3 separate regions of the Homo sapiens genome follow, and all the other regions are linked to region 2. The links are contacts of gene promoters, found by promoter capture Hi-C in blood cells and fetal thymus (Javierre and others, 2016). All regions are on one chromosome and are shown on one strand. The core of a region is centred on a gene start or on the middle of the fragment in contact, and the rest is flanking DNA. Distances in the headings are between cores, read along the strand shown.

Region 1 (2,925 bases), core at 305-2,804, 240 kb before region 2:
AGGTGTAACAGAGAAAGATACAAATCTGGGCTGGGGCCAGGTTCAGTGGCTCACGCCTGTAATCCCACCAGCACTTTGGGAGGACGAGGCGGGCGGATCACTTGAGGTCAGGAATTCGAGACCAGCCTGGCCAACATGGAGAAACCCCATCTCTACTAAAAATACAAAAATTAGCAGGGCGTGGTAGTGCACACCTGTAATCCCAGCTACTAGGGAGACTAAGGCACGAGAATCACTTGAAACCAGAGGGCAGAGGTTGCAGTGAGCCGAGATCACGCCACTGCACTCCAGCCAGGGTGACTCCGTCTCAGGAAAAAAAAAAAAAAAATCTGGACTGGGCCTAGTGGCTCATGCCTGTAATTCCAACACTCTGGGAGCCCAAGGTAGGAGGATCGCTTGAGCCCAGCAGTTCACGACCAGCCTGGACAACACAGTGAGACCCCATCTGTACAAAAAATACAAAAATTAGCTGGGTATGCAGGCACAGGGCTGTTGTTCTAGCTACTCAGGAGGCAGAGGTGGGAAAACTGATAGAGCCCAGGAGCTCCTAGGCTCAAGCAATCCTCACACCTCAGCCTCCCAAGTAGCTGGGACTATAGGTGTGTACCACTACACACAGCCAATTTTTTGCAGGGGCAGGGGCAGAGACAGAGTCTCACTATGTTGTCCAGGCTGGTCTTGAACTGCTGGGCTCACGCAGTCCTCCTGCTTCGGCCTCCCAAAGTGTTGGAATTACAGGCCTGAGCCACCAGGCCCAGCCCAGATTTTTATCTTTTTCTGTTACACCTCAGGGCTTCAATCCCACCACTTTGAAGTTTTGGGCTCAAGCAATCCTCCAGCGTTGGCCTCTCAAAGTGTTGGAATTAAAGGCGTGAGCCGAAGTGTCTGGCCCAGGCTCAGCTTTCCTTATCTTCATAGCAATGCCATCCATCCAGACACTTGTTCTTTATCTGAGCCTTCACATCAAATCCACCAGGTAGGCCAGGTGCGGTGGCTCACGTCTGTAATTCCAGCAATTTGGGAGGCCAAGGTGGGTGGATCACTTCAGGTCAGGAGTTCGAGACCAGCCTGAGCAACATGGTAAAACCCTTTCTCTACTAAAAATACAAAAATTAGCTGGGCATGGTGGCGCGTGCCTGTAATCCCAGCTACTTGGGAGGCTGAGGCAGGAGAATCACTTGAGCCTCGGCAGTAGAGTTTGCAGTGAGTTGAGATTGCGCCATTGCACTCCAGCCTCAGTGACAGATGGACTCTGTCTCAAAAAAAAAAAAAAGGTAAAAAAATAAATCCGGTCGGGCGCGTTGGCTCACACCTGTAATCCCAGCACTTTGGGAGGCCGAGGCGGACGGATCACCAGGTCAAGAGATGGAGACCATCCTGGCCAACATGGTGAAATCCCATCTCTACTAAAAATACAAAAACTAGCTTGGCGTGGTGGCACGCACCTGTAGTCCCAGCTACTCGGGAGGCTGAGGCAAGAGAATCACTTGAACCTGGGAAGTGGAGGTTGCAGTGAGCCAAGATCGTGCCACTGGACTCCAGCCTGGCGACAGAGCGAGACTCTGTCTCAAAAATCAATCAATCCACCAGGTAGTCCAACCTGACTCCTCTGCTCCCACTGCTTGGCCCAGGTCACCATCATCTATCCACTGGGTAACTCCAAAAACCTCCTAACAATGTCAACCGGAGTCTACCCTTGCCTTTCTCTACATCTATTCCTAACGTTGCAGCCAAAATGCTTCTGTCAAACTGTAAAGCAGATTGTCATTTCTTTGCTCAAACCCTCATAATGGCTCTCCACTTGCCATAAAGTAAAACCTGAAATCCTTATAATGGGCAGGTGCAGTGGCTCAGCTCATGCCTGTAATCTGTGCACTTTGGGAGGGTGAGGTGGGAAGACTGCTTGGGCTTAGGAATTCCTGACCACCCTGGGCAACATAGCAAAACCCCATCTCAGGCCAGGCACAGTGGCTCACGCCTGTAATCCTAGCACTTTGGGAGACGAAGGTGGGCGGATCACTTGAGGGCAGGAGTTCAAGACCAGCCTGGCCAACATGGTGAAACCCTATCTCTACTAAAAATAAAAAAATTAGATGGGCATGGTGGCGGGCACCTGTAATCACAGCTACTCGGGAGGCTGAGGCAGAAGAATCACTCGAACCCGGGAGGCGGAGGTTGCAGTGAGCAAAGATCTGTGTCATTGCACTCCAGCCTGGGCAACAAAGCAAGACTTCTTCTCAAAAACAACAACAACAACAACAAAAAAAACAGACGAAATCCTTATAATGTCCTACAAAGCCCTTCAAAATTACCTTCTCCCCATTATATCTCTGAACGCCCTTCCTTCTTCCACTTTGATCCAGACACATACATTCCTTCTGGCTGCTCCTTAAACTTGCCAGGTATGTACTTGCTTAATAGCCTTTGCTGCATTCCCTCTGCCTGGAATGTTCTTCCCAAATATCTAATTGGCTGCCTACCCTGACCACCCTATTTAACTCTGCACTCTGCCCTCAGAGTGGGGGCAGCCCACTTTTTCTTTTCCATAGCATTTAACATCTTTTGGGCATGGCGCAGTGGCTCACGCCTGTAATCCCAACACTTTGGGAGGCCGAGGTGGGCAGATCACGAGGTCAAGAGATCGAGACCATCCTGGCCAACATGGTTAAACCCCATCTCTACTAAAAATACAAAAATTAGCTGGGCGTGGTGATGTGCACCTGTAGTCCCAGATACTCGGGAGGCTGAGGCAGGAGAATTGCTTGAACCCAGGAGGTGGAGGTTGCAGTGAGTAGAGGTTGTGCCACTGCACTCCAGCCTGGCAACAGAGTGAGACCCCGTCTCCGTCCACCATCTAGACAGGGCTCTTTTTTTTTTTTTTTTTTTTTGAGCTAGAGTTTCACTCTTGTTGTCCAGGCTGGAGAG
Region 2 (2,700 bases), core at 51-2,550:
TGGACATACAGATCAGGGAGGCTGTCGTGGCAGTCCATCAAGGGGACCCACCTCACCATCACCCAGGGTGAGTCCAGCTGCCCTGGCACCAAGGAACCTTCCTGGTTCAGCCATAGGCTCAGGTGTGTGGAGGGAATGACCTGAGGGGCTGTATGAGGGAACAACCTCCTGGGGCTCCCCTATGCCTGAGTTCCTGCAACTCAGAAGTTGAGGCCCAGAGATCCAGGTAGAGGGGGCTCCAGTCCTGGGACTGCCCTGCAAGTCATGTGGCCTGGGACAGGGCTTCTCCAAGCTCTGTCCCCTCCTGTGTAGGGCAGGGAGGTCAGAGGGGACCCTGCAGATCCAGTCTCATGTCTGGGGGTCAAGGGGTGGCCTCGAGAGGGACCAGTCTCTGTGTAGGGGACCGTCAGCCCCCTCACCCCTTGAGCAAGACTGTGGTCCCTGCACCAAGGGAGCAGGCCTGGGGTGGGAAGAGGCCAGCTGGGCTGTGGTGGTGCCTGGGGACTGCATGGGAGCCCCTGCCAGGGAGGGAGAGGGACAGAGGACAAGCTGGGGGCTCTGGTGCTTGGGCTGGGGGCTGAGCGCCTGTGACCTCCACTGGCTTCCTCCTTCTCCTCTCTGAGGACTGAATCTGGGGTGCAGCAGAGCACAGACTCAGGCCCGCCTTTCCTCTCCCTGAAAGAGCCTGCGCTGGCCTTGGACAGAGAAAGGGATGAGAAGTGAGGCTGAGTGCGGTGGGGTCTGCAGGGATCCAGGTGGGAGGGGCCCAGCCAGCCAAGGTGAGGCCCAGCCCCTCAGCAGGAAGATGGGCACTGGGGCCCTTGGGCAGGGCTGACTTGACACTTTTGTGTGACTTGAGCCACTGTGCCCAGCCTGAACACCCTTTCCTGGTAAAACACTCCACAAACCAGGAAGAGAAGGAATGTACTGCAACAAAATAAAGGCCAGTCATGCAAGGCCCATGGCTGAAAGTCTTTCAGTCATTTTAGATGAAAGACTGAAATCTTTGCCTCCAAGATCAGGAACAAGAGAAGGATGCCCGCTCTCACTACTTCTATTCAACACAGGATTTGAAGTCAGGCCGGGCACAGTGGCTCACGCCTGTAATCCCAGCACTTTTGGAGGCTGAGGCGGGCAGATTACTTGAGCCTATGAGTGTGAGACCACCCTGGCCAACATGGCAAAACCCCATCTCTACTAAAAAAAAAAAAAAAAAAAGGATTTGAAGTCCTGGCCGGAGCAATTAGGCAAGGGATAAAAAGGCACCTAAGGCCCTTTTGCAATAAGAAGCCAGATGGATAAAGGAAGTGCTGGTCACCCTGGAGGTGTACTGGTTTGGGGAAGGTCCCCGGCCCCCACAGCCCTCTGGGGAGCCTCACCCTGGCTCTCCCCACTCACCTCAGCCCTCAGGCAGCCCCTCCACAGGGCCCCTCTCCTGCCTGGACAGCTCTGCTGGTCTCCCCGTCCCCTGGAGAAGAACAAGGCCATGGGTCGGCCCCTGCTGCTGCCCCTGCTGCTCCTGCTGCAGCCGCCAGCATTTCTGCAGCCTGGTGAGTACCCAGGACCGCCCAGGTATGGTCTCTGCCCAAACCACAGGAGGGGCCAACCCAAGACAAAGGCAGAACATCTGGGGCAGGGGCCAGGCTCCCACCTCCAGCAAACAAGGGCGGGTCCCATAGGGGTGGGTGCCGCCATCTCTTCCCCCTCCACCCTCCCCCATGCCTGAAGAGTGGGAGACCCAGGCCAGAGGTCAGTCCAGCCACCTGTCACACGACTGCCTGTGGGTGAAGGTGTGGGAGGGTCTGGGGTCACCCTCTTTGTGTCCTGAGGTGGTTTCAAGGTCTCTCCCCCACTCACTCCCTCCTTCCTCTAGGTGGCTCCACAGGATCTGGTCCAAGCTACCTTTATGGGGTCACTCAACCAAAACACCTCTCAGCCTCCATGGGTGGCTCTGTGGAAATCCCCTTCTCCTTCTATTACCCCTGGGAGTTAGCCATAGTTCCCAACGTGAGAATATCCTGGAGACGGGGCCACTTCCACGGGCAGTCCTTCTACAGCACAAGGCCGCCTTCCATTCACAAGGATTATGTGAACCGGCTCTTTCTGAACTGGACAGAGGGTCAGGAGAGCGGCTTCCTCAGGATCTCAAACCTGCGGAAGGAGGACCAGTCTGTGTATTTCTGCCGAGTCGAGCTGGACACCCGGAGATCAGGGAGGCAGCAGTTGCAGTCCATCAAGGGGACCAAACTCACCATCACCCAGGGTGAGTCCAGCTGCCCTGACACCTGCCTTGCCCACCGCAGTGAGGGTTTTGGTGACCACTGATGTCTTCACATTTAAACCCAGTGGTCTGGATTGAGAGCTGTTAGCATTTCACCTTGCTACCCCTTCCATGTCTGGGCTTCTGAGAGCAGCTTGCTCATCCTGAATGTCCCCAATCTAGAAAGCAGCACACCATGCCTTTCATCCAGACGCCCCACACCCCCAGAAGAGGGTCTGCTCATTCCTCATCTCTTCCAGCTGTCACAACCACCACCACCTGGAGGCCCAGCAGCACAACCACCATAGCCGGCCTCAGGGTCACAGAAAGCAAAGGGCACTCAGAATCATGGCACCTAAGTCTGGACACTGCCATCAGGGTTGCATTGGCTGTCGCTGTGCTCAAAACTGTCATTTTGGGACTGCTGTGCCTCCTCCTCC
Region 3 (2,714 bases), core at 177-2,676, 170 kb before region 2:
CAAGCTTGGGGTGGGCAGTGTAGGCAAGTCGGCTTAACCTCCTTGGGCTTTATGAGGGACTTGATAGCCTCAGCATGTGCACTCATGGCCCTATGGCCCTGGCATTGTTGCCCTGCATCATCTTTTTTTTTTTTTTTTTTGAGACAGTCTCACTTGTTGCCCAGGCTGGAGTGCAGTAGTGCGATCTCAGCTTACTGCAACCTCCGCCTCCCAGGTTCAAGCGATTCTCCTGCCTCAGCCTCCCGAGTAGCTGGGATTACAGGCACCCGCCACTATGCCCAGCTCATTTTTTGCATTTTTAGTAGAGACGGGGTTTCACCATGTTGGCCAGGCTGGTCTCGAATTCCTGACCTTGTGATTCACCCACCTTGGCCTCCCAAAGTGCTGGGATTACAGGCATGACCGACTGCACCCGGCTGGCCTGCATCTTCTTTAGGCCGTTCTTGTTGTGCTTCTTGGCAAAGCACATATTCCTCAGGAATTTGGGTCCATCCGCTTAAGAGATTTGTATCTTTGTGATTGGGGTTTCTTGATGCCATTTCTGTGCAGTTTTCAGCCTGGTTGTGTGAGGTGTGGTTCTTGGATTTGGCCATGTCTACACCATAACCTGTGGCTCCCTTCCTTTGGGTTTTTAGAGAGATTGCCTTATAGCAGATACATGGTTGGATGTTGGCAGACTGTTGACCAGGGGGTCTTCTCATTCCCCACCTAAGCTCTTTGCAGAATGTTTCCTTGCTCATCTTCAGGTATATCTGTAAATGATCAAAGCATCCTGTTATTTTCCTTGTAAGCACCTCATATCCTTCATTCTTTAGGCATTGTGACCCCTGAGATGTTCAAGAAGATGTCCAACTCAGAGATCATCCAGCACCTAACAGAGCAGTTTAATGAGGTGGAAGAAGATGACCAGGATCCTCTTACCCCTCTTATTTCAAAACACAATGCCTATTATCCCCTTCTTTTTGATTCTGTGAAATAGGGTAGCTTTTAGAAGGAGGAATTCAGTCTCTTGGGGGTAAAAGAGATCTGAATATGCCTCTCAAATTGGGGAGAATACCAGGAAATGAGGTATAACAGATATTTTTACTGGACTGTTGAGTTTTGACATCCAAGCCCCTATGACTTCATGGACCTGGTAATAACTTTCCCATCCTTTTCATACATCCTTTTGTAGGACTCGGGGGACTACCCTCTCATAGCTCCAGGTCCATCCTGGAAGAAGTTCCAGGGCAGCTTCTGTGAATTTGTGAGGACATTGGTCTGTCAGTGCCAGTACAGCCTCCTCTATGATGGCTTCCCTATGGACGACCTCATCTCCCTGCTCACTGGCCTCTCAGACTCACAAGTCCGCGCCTTCCGTCACACTAGCACCCTGGCTGGTGAGCATTCATTTTTACTCTGGACATTCTCCTGGGGATTTATAGGACTTTCCTCTGTTCTCTGATTCAGGATCTTCTTTCCTACCTGCATCTTGGCTCTTCACTTCAAGGCCATGCCTCTTTTATCCTAAACTTCAATCCAGTTTCTCACTAGTGGAGTTTTGAGAAGGGGTAGATCACAGCAACAATTTCCAGGTTTAATATTTTTGTCAGAGCTCACCACTAGGGGTATGCTGATGGTTAAAAGAAGACCACAAGGGTTCGAGGGAAACAGTCCACTCCAGGACAGGCCGTCTTAGGATTTTAGGGTCATCCTGCTCTGACGTCTCATTTTCATTGCCCTTCTTTCCTTCTATTTTTTCCTTCTACTCATCCTCTCTCCTCTGACCTCAGTAATGATTTCTTTATCTCTTTTTCCTTTCTCAAAGCTATGAAACTGATGACCTCCCTGGTAAAAGTTGCCCTCCAACTGAGTGTGCACCAAGATAACAATCAGCGTCAGTATGAGGCTGAAAGAAACAAGGGGCCAGGGCAGAGGGCACCTGAGCGGCTGGAGAGCCTGTTGGAGAAACGCAAAGAGGTGAGGAGTGTTCCCTGCTTCTTCCTTCCCTTTTTCCCAACTTGCACCCACTTCTGCCACAGACCCCCTTATCAGGCCCTGGGCAGTCTTTCAAGATCATGAATAATGGAGTCTGGCAATAGTTTCATAGACCCATCCTGTAAGGGGTCATTACATGCTCATCTTGTTTCTGGGTTGTGGGCTCAACAAATAATGTGTAATTTAGAGTTCTCTCTAATTCCACTTTTGCTCAGTTTTTTTTTTTTTGTCAGCACTCATTGTTAGGAGTGTTTAAGTGCTGTACCTGCCTGTCATGCAGGGAATTAAGTTTTGACCTACTTGTCAAGTGTGCAGTGTGCAAGTGAGTGCAGGAGTACTAAAAGCCAACCATTGACAAGGGAGGCCAAATTTTCAAGGAATGGAAAGAAAACAGGCCTCCCAGTGAACTCGCTTTAAATTCTGTTGAATTTAGTCACTAGCTCCATAGCCTTATGTAACCTCTCTTCAGTTTTCTTTTCTTTAAAAAAAGGAATAATCTCACCTTTTTGTGAAGAATAAATGAGATGAGTAAATTGCCTCGCTTGGCTCATAGTAGATACTTGTTTTGTTTCCTTTTAAACTTAAAGATGACCACTGGGGGGCATAAGCCATAGCAAAATCTTTTACGCTGATGAAATCTTTAATCAGCTGGGTCTGTCATAAGAGTAACACTACTGGTGTTTTCTCCTCACTCTCTGTTAGTGTCTAAGACCCCTCCTATGAGGTTGGCAGGACTC

The links. The method cuts DNA at HindIII sites, captures the fragments that hold promoters and counts their contacts. A CHiCAGO score of 5 or more calls a contact.
Region 1: a fragment that was not itself captured here is called in contact with the fragment with the promoter of PILRB in region 2 in 2 of 17 cell types (total B cells and total CD8 T cells); the score reaches 7.3 in total B cells.
Region 3: a contact is called between a fragment that was not itself captured here and the fragment with the promoter of PILRB in region 2, in 1 of 17 cell types (total B cells). The highest score is 5.1, in total B cells.

The regions. Positions count from the first base shown.
Region 1 is chr7:100,114,401-100,117,325 of GRCh38, forward strand. All of the region lies in intron 1 of TAF6 (TATA-box binding protein associated factor 6), which reads right to left. Among named protein-coding and RNA genes, the nearest start is that of TAF6, 3.5 kb to the right of the region's middle. The HindIII fragment of the contact is 3,542 bases long and covers 1-2,925 here.
Region 2 is chr7:100,356,817-100,359,516 of GRCh38, forward strand. PILRB (paired immunoglobin like type 2 receptor beta) reads left to right here and starts at 1,301. Exons shown (of 4, transcript NM_178238.4): 1 at 1,301-1,550; 2 at 1,874-2,263; 3 at 2,521-2,700. The coding sequence starts at 1,487. It overlaps STAG3L5P-PVRIG2P-PILRB (STAG3L5P-PVRIG2P-PILRB readthrough), which reads left to right. Exons shown (of 17, transcript NR_036570.1): 13 at 1-67; 14 at 1,404-1,550; 15 at 2,083-2,263; 16 at 2,521-2,700. The HindIII fragment of the contact is 11,655 bases long and covers 1-2,700 here.
Region 3 is chr7:100,187,638-100,190,351 of GRCh38, forward strand. It overlaps STAG3 (STAG3 cohesin complex component), which reads left to right. Exons shown (of 34, transcript NM_001282717.2): 6 at 816-892; 7 at 1,175-1,379; 8 at 1,808-1,959. It also overlaps the pseudogene LOC102724025. Among named protein-coding and RNA genes, the nearest start is that of STAG3, 11 kb to the left of the region's middle. RefSeq lists an enhancer at 2,573-2,714. The HindIII fragment of the contact is 2,848 bases long and covers 3-2,714 here.